Linked DNA regions of Homo sapiens: region 2 is linked to region 1. Evidence: promoter capture Hi-C in 16 types of primary human blood cells and fetal thymus (Javierre and others, 2016). All regions are on one chromosome and are shown on one strand. Each heading gives the region's core, a stretch centred on a gene start or on the middle of the fragment in contact. The rest is flanking DNA. Distances are from core to core; before and after follow the strand shown.

Region 1 (5,509 bases), core at 1,084-3,583:
CGCGAGGCGCCAGCTTGTTCTGGAGACTCAGTTTCCACTGGACAAAAGCAGGGGAAACACAACGCAAGGGCTGTGCAAATCCACGTTCCCGACGCCCCTCCACCCCATCCCAATCTGATTTTTGAGACGTGCATTTTCAGGTAGTCCTAAACTGTGAACAGCGAGCTTTGTGTGTTATCTAGTGGGGGTGGGGATGAAAGGGGAGGAGACTCCCACTGCCCGTTCCAGTCTTTAATGTTTGAAATAACGAAATGCCTTGTGTAGCAGCTGCTGCTTGAGCCAAAACTAACTCTTTGGAAGACGGAAAAGAGTGAAAGGCAAAGAAAGACTGTTCATTTTTTTTCTTTTGGTGCCGTTTGGGATGTCATCTGTTTCCTTGGCGACTGTGTTCAGCCCCCGGAGCCCCTGGGCTCCTGGATTGTTAGGGGGGAAAAGCATGCTATTTCTGCACCGTCATTTATCACTGTCACCGCATAATGATTCCCCTTGCAGCCCCTTATTGATGTTTGTAATTGCATTATCTCATAAAGGAGGATGATCAATGAAACCGAGCCGTGCATTCTGGGGTCAGAGGAAGCCAAAGTACTGTTTGTCCCCTTTAATACAACAAGTACTCATTATCTTTAGGTCTGCATTCAAAAAATGATCTGATCTAGGGCTGACCCTGTCGGACATCCCAACACTTTCTAAAACGCGGTTTGTGTAACCTTTTGCTTAAATGCTAAATCAAGTACCTGTCTTGCATTTCAACGAAACAAGATGCTAAAACTGAATGAAAAAAAAGCATTTCTTTTTTTTTTTTCCCCCTGGGAGGGGTGCGATCGTCTGAAGGTGCATGAGATTTTACACTGTAACTGCTTGGTAATATAATACAGAAAAGGCAATCCCAATCCACATGAGTCCTAATAAATAGAAAAAAAATTGGGGATGAGGGGAAAAAGGCAGGTAGCTGGGAGCTTTTAACAAGGTCGGTACTAAAAGATCAGAATAAAACCACATCCAGTTTAATTAATAATAGCTATAAACTGAAATAATTCCCCATGATTCTGCCCTTGCTTCTCCTTTTTACAGAGTCATATCTCTTCAGTTTAGAGAAATGACTTTTGTGGCTGTTCGATTCTCACAACAACAATAACTAAATCAGTTGCACACTGTTATCTAAAACCATCTACAAACTCCAGCAAATAAAAAGAAGTTCATTTGTCTATTAAGGCAAGCATTTAGTTGAGCAGAAATATCCCAGTAACACTGAATAGAGTTCGTGTAATCCTATGGAAATCAAGTCATCTTGTTGCACTGAAGTAAATGAAAAAATACAAAGGAGAAAAGGTCCAAGTGTAATTGTAATTTTAAACTAAATGCATTATTGGACTGTCACAGTGAAAACGTGATTGTTCGGCTGCGGGGGGGGGGGCGGGGGGCGGCGAGTGGACATAAACTTAGCTCACATTTAACTTAAAGGTTTCAGAAAGGAAATATGTATTCCATATTTGGTGATCATTTGTGGAAAGAGGAGAAATTGAAACAATTCTAACCCATCATTTTAGTATACTAGGGGGAATCATTCCTTCAAAAGCAGAATTAAGCAAAAAGCTTATTTTAAACATTGCAAGTCTGTATTAGCAGAAAAAAAAAGTTTCAAATTTTCTGAAAATGTATGTCCTCTCTATGTTAATAAGATGTTGACAGAGAGAAAGAGAGAGAGAGAGAGAAACTAAGTTCAGGTGTTTTATTTTTTAAGTTCTAGATACTTCTAAATTAACGATATAAATTAATGTTTTACATAAAAAGATCTAAATGAAAAGTTTTCATTATAGTTGAGAAAATGAGTACTTAGAGTGTGCTCTGATAATTTGACACATTGACATAAAACCTTAAATTGAATAATAAAACAAACGGCTAAAATATTCCCCCTTGGAAAAATAACTTTAATAATAAAGCTAGAAAAGTTTTAACTGTGTTGAACCATCACTTTTTTCTCTGGAAGGCAGATTATCCTAAAGAGTATTATTTTCCAGAAATTCTGTCAAGGCACTTTGAAATAATATATGTTTGTATTATTTAATATTCTGACACTTCCGTTCTTTGAAAATGCTCAGACTGGAATGGATACGTAGCCATGCATATATTTAATATAAATGGTATCTTGTCGTTAACATAAAATATTAAAGAGAAAATAAAACTTTGGGCTTTGTCAGTTAAGATAGAATTTTTTAGCATAATACTCTGATTTTCAAAACATAAAATTGAAACCCCTTGATTTTAACCAATCAACACAAGTCTTTCTCTTATTTGGTTGGGGATCTGCATCATATACTCTTTCTATTTTTAATATTTAGTGTTGTAGCCCACTGTTAAAATAATGAAAAATTAGTCTCGTTTCAAAATTATTTATTTATGGAACGAACATGATTAAAACATAAACACACAAACTGCAGCTGCAACAGAAAAAAAACTTGATTTATGGTTATTAAATCTTTGATCGCCATGTTAATGTTTCTTTTTCTACCTTTCATTTGCATTTTAATCTATCGAATCTTTACAGTTTTGCTGCCTCCTATTTCAATGATTGATTACAGATCTGAAATAAGAAAAACCAAGCCTAGCTTTTCTTTTCCTTTCTTCGCTTTCTTTTTTCTCTTTTTCTTTTCCCCCCCTCCCTTTCCCCCCGGGTAGATTTCTGAAACTTTCTCTCAATGCTAATGTAGACAGGACAAATTAATTCTGCTCTTTTAAATGTCAAAGATATAAATAAAAAATGTTTTCTGTCCCAAACGTGAATATTTTCCCAGCTGCTTGTTTTCGAGTCGTAAAAGATCATCCCAGCAAAATGCAATTAACAGCGAAACACACACACATACACTCACACACTCGGCGGTGCGGAATTTTTTTAAAGGACGTGTTGTTCTGAGTTGAAGAAAGGTGAGAAGTTCACCGTCCCTTCACCATCAGTAGCCTCGCTGCGGCTCTCCTCTCTCTCTCTCTCTCTCTCTCTCTCACACACACACACACACACACACACTTGGAGGTTTGGTCCCTAGTTCTATCTGTGATCTAAGTCACACAAACAAAAACAAGCTTGGTGGCAGCTTGTTGTTGTTGAGTGTTGTTGAGTTGATTTCTTGAGATAAGCAGTGTAAAGACAAAAGGGGGAGCGATGCAGGTCTGTTTGTTTTCTTTCCCCGCCGCCCCACTGTCCCTTTTCTCGTCTCCCCGCGCACCTCCCCAGACGCCCTGCCGGGGTGGCTCCGCGGATGAGGCGGTCATTTGCTGTCCGCTTTGCGGGGACGGGTCACTTTCCGCGCTGGCGTGAAAGCAAATGTGGAGCTGCTTTTGGAAGGCGCCGGCCGGACGTCGGCTAGGCTCCTTCTCCCCGCGGGCTGGGGGCCCTGGGGCTCTGCAAGGCTCTGGCTCCGAACAGATTGCGCCTCCCGCCTGGCTGCCAGTAGGAACTGGGGTGGGAGCCGCGTAACTAACAGTTGCGCGCAGGAGGCGAGCCCCAGGTGTGAGCGCAGAGGCTCTCTCCCCAGCCCGCGGGTCTGGGAACCTTTCAGGACGCCTCCCTCCCCAACTCCTACCCATGCGTCTGCTCCCTAGGCCGAGCCCCCCTCGTGAGGTTTTAATGACCGCGGACGCAGGGGAGCCCGCACTTGAGCGAGGACCGACTTCTCTGGCGGGTCCACGCTGCTCGCGCTTGCGTCCGCGGGTAGCGCGCTGTGCCCGGGTCAGGGGGCGAGCTGCGAGAAGTAGGAGGGGTCAAGACCCCCAGAAATCCCTCCATGGGCACACACACAATCAAGAATAGGGTTGAGGGTCTTGAGAGGTAGAACTACCCTAGGCAGGGCTTCTCCAACTCGGCCTTTGGACCCCGCGCGCGCCCAAGGGCGTGCCCACCGCGGAAGCACAGATCATCTTCCCGGGACTGGGTCTCCTGGACCCTGCGTTGCTCCCTTTTTCCTAGCGGCCCCGTAGCTGGCTGCCGCATGTAGGGCGATCTTCATTAACTTGGACGCCCAACGTGATTGAAATAGAGAGGAGGAAAAAACACATTTGATCTGGGCCGACCCTTTGTCTTGAAGCAGATTAGGCAGCCTAGAAATAGGAGGAAAAACAGAAAGTCTAGGCAGGAAAACTTATTGTGTTCACAACATATAAAAATGATCCGAGCGGTCTGGTACCTCAAGGGGTGAAGATAGATCCTTGTAGACGAGTGTGAAGACATGACTGGGAAGATTTAAAGTGAAAGAAACGGCAGATTATTAAGAAAGTAATAGTAAGGTGTCCCATACACTACAGTTTTATTGTTGGGTAGTAACTACCCGATTTATTTATTGCCGGGGCTATATAATAGAGATAATGACCACAAACTCAAGATAAATTCTTATGCGCCCAGCCGGTCAATTCTTTTTTATTTAAGAGAGTGAGCCTGAAGGGTGAGCCTCATCCCCTCCCCTCCTCGAAGATCCGTCTTGCTTTCTACCATATTATAAGCATGACATGCAAATAAATAAGTGCTGCTGGGTCTGTGTGGGTAGGCCGGCAGGATTTATTTCAGGTGACGGAGGAACATACACGGAATATGAATTTCCGCAGGAGTGGCGCCGTGATTCCTTCCCTCTCCCTCTCGGCCGCCCTCTCCTCAGGGTCTCCCTCCTTTTCTGTGGGAGCAGAGAGCATCCCCTGTTAAAAACATTAACGTGTCATGTCTCAGCTCCCTATTCCTTGACATATAGGTCTGGGGAGGGATGGGGGCACTGCAAAATGCAAAACGCATGCCCAAAGTAGGTTGACTTGCTGGGACTGCTCAAAGCGATTCTGGTGGACAAAGAGAAGGGTGAGTTGTAATTATGACTTCCAGTAGGGGAGCAGTATAGGAAGTATGTTAATATCATTTTGAAATATGCACAATGGTCCAAAAGTTTACTGTCCCGGATCTGGCATGGGTCCTCCCCAGCCGGATGGACCCCAAGGGGAGCCCTCCTGGCACCTTGGGACATGCCCGCCTCTCTTGGCCCTCGGTTTCTCTCTCTGGGAGCCAGGTAAACACCCCCCTGGCCAGGTGATGGAGTTAAAGATGACCTTGCTCGTTGACCGCCAAGGTCGGAAGAGAGCTGGCGGCCTCAGGTGTAGGTTCCACCTGACGCCCTGGCTGCAATCATAGTCACCGGCTGGCCTTTAAGGGGGCGGCCTCCCAGAACTGCTCTCCCCACCTGCACTCTGCGACCACTCAGGCAGATCCGGAACCTGCCAAGACGAAGTCAGTCAGCATCCTCTTCCGATCTTCTTATTTTCTTCCTCATTTTTTGGATAATATTCAGACATACAGTGTTTCAGTCTCACAATAACCACTTACATGCAGAACTTCCTTTGATCTGTTTGGCCAGAGTCGGGGGGAAACACCTGACAGTGAAGAACTGCGATGAAAAAGAGGGGTTCAGGGGAGATGGGAGAGCCAGACGCGTGGGGCGAGGGAGAAGGAGGTGCGTGTGGGGAGATGGAGACCTAGAGA
Region 2 (5,943 bases), core at 2,114-4,613, 3.5 Mb before region 1:
GACCTGGACGCGCAGGAGAAGCAGTGAGTGGGCAGTGGGGTCGGGTCGAGGCTGGGCCACCTGCCGAGGGGCCGAGAAGTGTGCGGAAAGTTCAATCCAGAGGTCGCGGGAGGGCCGGGGCAGCCTCCCACTGGCCTGGTGCTCCCCATTCCCGCTGGGGATCCAAATACTGGGCGACGGGGGAGTGCTGCTCTGCCCTCCACGAAGAAAAATAATTTTGTTTCCTGTTTGTCCTGTTTGTCTGACATCCAGGGCCGAAGAAGAAGATGAGCATTTGGAGCGAACTCTGGAGCAAAACAAAGGCAAGATGGCCAAGAAAGAGGAGAAATGTGTTCTTCAGTAGCCATCAGATCAGAAAGAATCTCTCCCAACATTTTAGAGTCTTGCTTCCCAAACCAGAAAAAGTCAGACTCATTGTTGATTTAAAACTTTTAACATTTTGTTTGGCTGGATTGTACTACTTTACCTCTACTTTACCACCACCACCCTTTTCCTCCCTCCTTTCCAAATAATATACAGAACTCCAAAATAGCTTCATTTAAGGATTTTTTTGTGAGTTAACAATTTCCTTGAAATCCTGTGAAATAGATTTGCACAGACACCTTGTGAGTGATTGGTATTGGAGGTGTTCAAGAAACTGTTCGAAAAAGAACAAAAACACTTCCCTCGTTATTTTCTCTCATTTTTTGATGAGAGGAAAATTTGAAACATTATTCTTGTTGTTGTTGGTAATAGCATAATGACAGTGGGAGGGGTACAAGGGGATAAGAAAAATGTCATGATTTTTTTCCGGTCCTGCCACATGTAACACTTACTCTGTTACCTAAATTTTATAGTTAGATCATATCCAATCTACTTATTAAACTGTGTTCTATTTACCAGTGGAGTTTTTCTGCAGTGGTTGCGTTTCACTGTAAGGATAATGGAGTTCCTCTCCTCTGCTTTCCTCAGAGGATGGTCCTTTAACATAGCCAGAAACAAGCCCTGTGGTTTGAAGGTGAGCTGTGAGGATGGGACTAATTGATATGCACCAGTTTACAAAGACAGTCTTATCATCCGAGAATACACCATCTTTTTCTCTGGATAATTATTTCTTACATCATGCTTGATTCCTACATTTTGTTGGGTCTCAACATTGGCTCACGAATGCTGTTAATATTTATTCTGTATTGATAAAAAGTCTGTCTTGCCACTACAAGTAAATCCCCCATTTAATATTTTCTTCTTTAGCATAGCACTGTCATTTTTTGTGAAAATGGTTATGTTTATTTATTACAATACTGAGTCATATATAAATTTTCAATAAAAGCAGAAACTTTCTTACCTTAAACACGGCTGCTACTTTCTTGCAATGAAAACTTGACATTGGCTTGAATGGAAGTTTGTCTATCCGTAAGACTTTTCATGTGGAAAATGGTCCTCTGGAACTTAGGGCAGGATACTGGGCTGCATTTGAAGCTGAATAAGTTTACACCATCCCAGAGGGGGCCCTACTGACACACGAATGCGAATTGAAAAGTAATTAGTCATATTCTTAAGCAGTATAAACTATCATGTCTTTTGTAAAGGGTCATCTCTGCTAAAGATTTGAGGAAATTTGTGATTCCACACCAATGAAAAACCAATATTTATATCTTGAATTTTCCACGTCATTACTTTGAATTGTTAGAGTTTTGAAGTCGTATTAGGGAGAGTCGTGTCTTCTGATAACCGGCAAGTCTGTAGGTACTGAAGTGAAAGGAAGAGGGTTATTGTTGGGGGGCGGGGAGAATGTATGCAGGTATGTGTGTATGAAATGAGGGAAAGAGAACTTTTAACAAGAAGTTCTAGGCTACAGAAAAAAAAAAAAAGCGATTCTATGCTAGTTTCCTTCATTCCCCCACAGGGGTGTCCAAACAAAGAAAGCTTGTTCAACAAGTCCAGAAACTTAGAGAAAAAAGTCCACTAGCATTTATACTTCAGCGTAGATCGTATGTATGTGCACACAAACAAATTTCGTTCCAAGTATGCAGCCACCTCCAGTTGCCAGTCTTTCAAAATGATAAAAACTTGCTACGGTAGAATTCCTTCATGATGAGCATTTCTTTTAAGTTATTGAAAAGTTATTTTAAGTAAATGAAGTCGGTATTTGCCCTCTTTATTCGAGCACGAGAGCAGAGAGAGAGCTGCTGCTCTCTGGGGAACGCTCTCAGAATCCCGTTCTAACCCCGGGAAAACTCAGCAGACAGAAATCGCCCGCCCCAAGCAGCCTGGGGCCTGGGCGGCCAACAGCACCCACCCAGTTTACGCTTGATTCGAGGAACCTTCACTCCCGAGGGGCCTCGCCGAAAAGCAGCTCCTTCGCTCCCGAAGCCGCTCCCAATCGGCCAACTGACAACCCTTCCCTCGCCCCAGATTTGCTAGGATGGTCTGGGACCGCCGGGCGGCCCCTCTACCTGCCCCTTCAGCTTTAGTCCCGAGCCTCTCGGGGTTTCAATTTGGGCTGCTCGGTGGCGCCCGAACGCCCCTCAGCGGCGGTGGAGCGTGGACTCCGGCGCCTGGCGGGGTAAGGCCCGCGGCAAGGGCGCTGCATCCGGACATCGCTGCGTGGTGCCCAGACGCTGGCTCCCGAGAACGGGCACGAGCCCAGCACGCCGGAGGACCCGGAACTCGAAAGCCCGCGCTGCGGGAAAAGAGACTATCGGTCCGAGGGTCGCAGAGGAGCAGGGGCGTTGGCAGCGGGCTTGCTTGGGCACAGTCTGCGGGCCGGAGCAGAACTTCCGCCCCTGGTCAGATCCCTCGGCCTCAGATCCAAAGCCCTCCCCTTGTCCCAAGTGTCCTCCAGAGCCTGGCCGGGCCTGGAGGTCACCTGGATGCTGGATCCTTGTCTCCACACCCAGCTCCCTCGCCCCTTCCCGGCTCGAGGGCCTTGAGCTGGACGGCTTCACCTCCTCCAGTGGTGTCCCCACTTCCCCTTCCCGCACCGCGGCCGATGCTGGAACGGTCATGGCTTCTGGCCCAGCATCTCCCACCTGGACATTTGCCTAGCGACGGCCGCCTCAATCCTCTGCGCTGCTTTCAAGAAACTTTCATCCCAGTCTCTCTCCCTCTCCACTCTCCTCCCTCTCCCCCTCTCCTCTTTCTTTTCTTAATCCTGGGGTTTTATGGGCTGAGCGTTAAGAAAATTCGCCTGCAATTTGGGATTAGATAAATACTCTAATTAGGAAAAAAAAAATCCGTGCTACTTGATACCTCCCAACTTCCCCGAGAATGGTGGCAGCATCTGGAACCGAGAGCGCCGGCCTCCCGCGAGGCGTACCCCGGGGACCGCGCTGGCACATTCCAGAGCGCACTGCCGTCCCACCTCGCTGCGCCGGACCCAGGTCAGGTGCTGAGGCTGCAGGCGAAACAGGGCCTGGTGGAGGGAGGAATGAGTTAAGGTGGAGGAATGGGGCAAGGTCACGCGCCCCGGCACTGGAGGGCCAACCCCGGCACACAGCGGACTGGCCGGGACTAGGGCAGCGCCGGGCTATGGACGCGGACGCCGGCGAAGCGCACCCCGGGACGTCCGCATATTCTTTCCCCCAAAACTAGTGCGCTCCAGCCGGCGCCTTTCCTCGGAACCTAAGGAAGGGGTATATTTCGTTGCTTTCTTTAAACCTCAGCACGATCACAGTGGCTCCGAGCCGCGGGCGGCTGACCGCGGGCCTCGCGGGCTACTCCTGGTAGGGGCCTGCGCGAGCCTAAGGTGTGTCCCCGCCTGGGTTAGCGCTGCGCTCTGCACTGTTTCTTTTCCTCTTAAAGCTTCTTTCTCACTCACTCTCTCCCTCCTTCTCTCTCTCATTTTTTCCCCATTTCTCTCGTTCTTTTATTCAGCTTTCTCTCTTTCTCTCCCTTTTGTGAATGGGCCGCGGTGTCTTTGTTCTGTAGAGAAGCGCCCGTGTCGCTGACTTTTGTGAACCAGAGAAGGATCTTGTAAAACCTCCTTTTCTCCTTCGTACGCCCCCACTCCCACCCCTCCTCCCCTGCCTCTTTGATTAGATGTTCCCTCATCGTCAAAAAAAAAATGTAATTTCGTTGGTCTGGCGGCCACTTTCTTTGAACATTAGCTCGCTTTCAGCTCCAACTTCAATTAGAAGGAGTTGATTTTGAGAGATCAACAAAAGAACCGACCAAAGCCTTATTAAAGGTCCTAAGAAGATCTCCCGGGTCCTTTGAGAAGCAGTTAAGGAAACAGTGTGCCCTCCATCATATTCTGTTACCGTATTTTATTCGGACTCCAAAGGAAAGTGTCGCTTGGGGGAGGGGGAAGCACTTTGATGAGCGGCGGCCGCGGCCCCTTTTCACTCAGCGGGCTCCCCCTTCGTTCTCCTCCTCCTCACCCAGCGCCCGGTCCGCTCTCGGCGCCCGACCCCGCAGCCCGGGCAGCGCGAGTGCTCCCCACTGCGATGCGCCTGGAGGCTCCTTGACTTGCCCTCACACTTAATCCTGTGCAAACTTTTTACCCCGCCTGTCGGGGTGGGGGAGTGGGGGAGATTAGAAACAAGGGGTAGAAATTCCTCGAAAGGGAATAAAGTGCCTAATTTTCAGGAGGAGGTGCCATTTAAAAGATTCGCCTAGCTTAGAGTTGGAACGAAAACTCTTTTTTGCACTTTTAAAAGTCCACCCAGGTAGACGTGTTTGGGAAGTTTTTTCGGGTGGGAAATGGGCTTCGCCCGTACGAACAATCCGGGGAAATCGCCTCAAGGAGGATCCTTACGCAGCATGTGGAAAAAAGTTGAGGGCAGGGGTCTGTGGCCACATTTTCCATCAAAAAGTCCCTGTTAGAGGCAGTCTAAGAAAGAGAGAGAAAGAGCGAAAAAGAAACTTTCCTATCAAAATGTTTCAATTAAGAAGTAGGGTGTACGTGTGAGGGGAAGAGGACGCTGGGCTCCAACGTTTCAGTAGAAGCGCTTAAGACTTGCAAACACCCTTGGTGGGGACCTGGAACCCCGGGAGATGCCGACGAGCAAGCAGGTAAGTGGCGGCGCCCTCCCAGTGGGTGCTCTTCCCAGGCGCGAGAGTCCGGAGGGGCCGAGGAGAGATCTGCACGCCCGGAGCTGCTCCCGCGCTCTGCAAAGTAGCCTGCGCCGGCACGAGCAGCCCGCGGCGTCGGTCTCAGGTGGCGGCGCCGGGGAAGAAAACGCTGGGGCCCGCGGCGCCGGGAGAGGGGCCGAGGCCCGGGCTCCTCCAGCCCGCCGCCCCCGGGTCCTGGCGCCCACACCCGAGCGGCTGAGCCCTGTAGCGCGCGGGAGAGCGAAGGAACCGGTTCTCCAGCACCTCGCCTCCTCCCTGCCACTCCCTCCGGAGCGCCGAGAGCGCGAGAAGGGCGGGGGCGCCCAGGGCAGGCCTGGAGACCCACGGCCCCCTCCGCGGCCAGGACTCGGGCTCTCCGCTCGCCTTCCTCGCCTAGCTCTGCGCCGCTTTTGCCAGCCGAGTCCCGGAGTTAGCGCGCGACCGGGGCGGGGCGGGAGGGCGGGGAGGGCGGGGTGTGGGGGGCGGGGGAGGGCGGGGGCGCGCGGAGGTAACCCCCGGCTCGCGCAGCCATTGCCCGGCTCCCTGTCACTCAGCCCGCGCGGGGCCCCCGATTGGCGGCCTAGCCCCGTTACGCACTCGCCTCGCGTTCACATACCCGGGGAGGGCAGTAGAAAGGTGATCAATCTTCATCAGGCTACATTTCCAATCACCTAAACAACCGAGCAAGACAAGCCACTCCGACAAGGTAAATCGCTTGATTTATTTAGTTTGCAAAGTGACTCTGCAGGACTTCCCAGTCCCCACTGCCTCCACGTTGCACCGGGAGTGCCGCGGCAACGCCGAGCCACCTCCCAACTCTGCCCCTCGAATTCCCCCCCTTGCGGCCCCTCGGCGCGATCCCAGGCGAGGCAATGTCCTGAGAACGTGTGGGGCTTAGCAAACAAAGTG

Evidence for each region. The method cuts DNA at HindIII sites, captures the fragments that hold promoters and counts their contacts. A CHiCAGO score of 5 or more calls a contact.
Region 2: a contact is called between the fragment with the promoter of EHBP1-AS1 here and a fragment that was not itself captured in region 1, in 2 of 17 cell types (naive B cells and total B cells). The highest score is 13.5, in naive B cells.

Annotation. Positions count from the first base shown.
Region 1 is chr2:66,578,254-66,583,762 of GRCh38, forward strand. All of the region lies in intron 1 of LINC01798 (long intergenic non-protein coding RNA 1798), which reads left to right. Among named protein-coding and RNA genes, the nearest start is that of LINC01798, 7.0 kb to the left of the region's middle. RefSeq lists an enhancer at 1-1,590. The HindIII fragment of the contact is 1,485 bases long and covers 1,592-3,076 here.
Region 2 is chr2:63,045,158-63,051,100 of GRCh38, forward strand. EHBP1-AS1 (EHBP1 antisense RNA 1) reads right to left here and starts at 3,364. Exons shown (of 4, transcript NR_033389.1): 1 at 3,232-3,364; 2 at 1,325-1,493; 3 at 880-984; 4 at 1-286. EHBP1 (EH domain binding protein 1) reads left to right here. Exons shown (of 23, transcript NM_001142616.3): 22 at 1-23; 23 at 253-1,330. The coding sequence ends at 343. OTX1 (orthodenticle homeobox 1) reads left to right here and starts at 5,673. Exons shown (of 5, transcript NM_014562.4): 1 at 5,673-5,740. RefSeq lists enhancers at 1-566, 2,676-3,424, 3,403-4,811, 3,425-4,174, 4,175-4,922 and a silencer at 5,039-5,698. The HindIII fragment of the contact is 1,878 bases long and covers 1,904-3,781 here.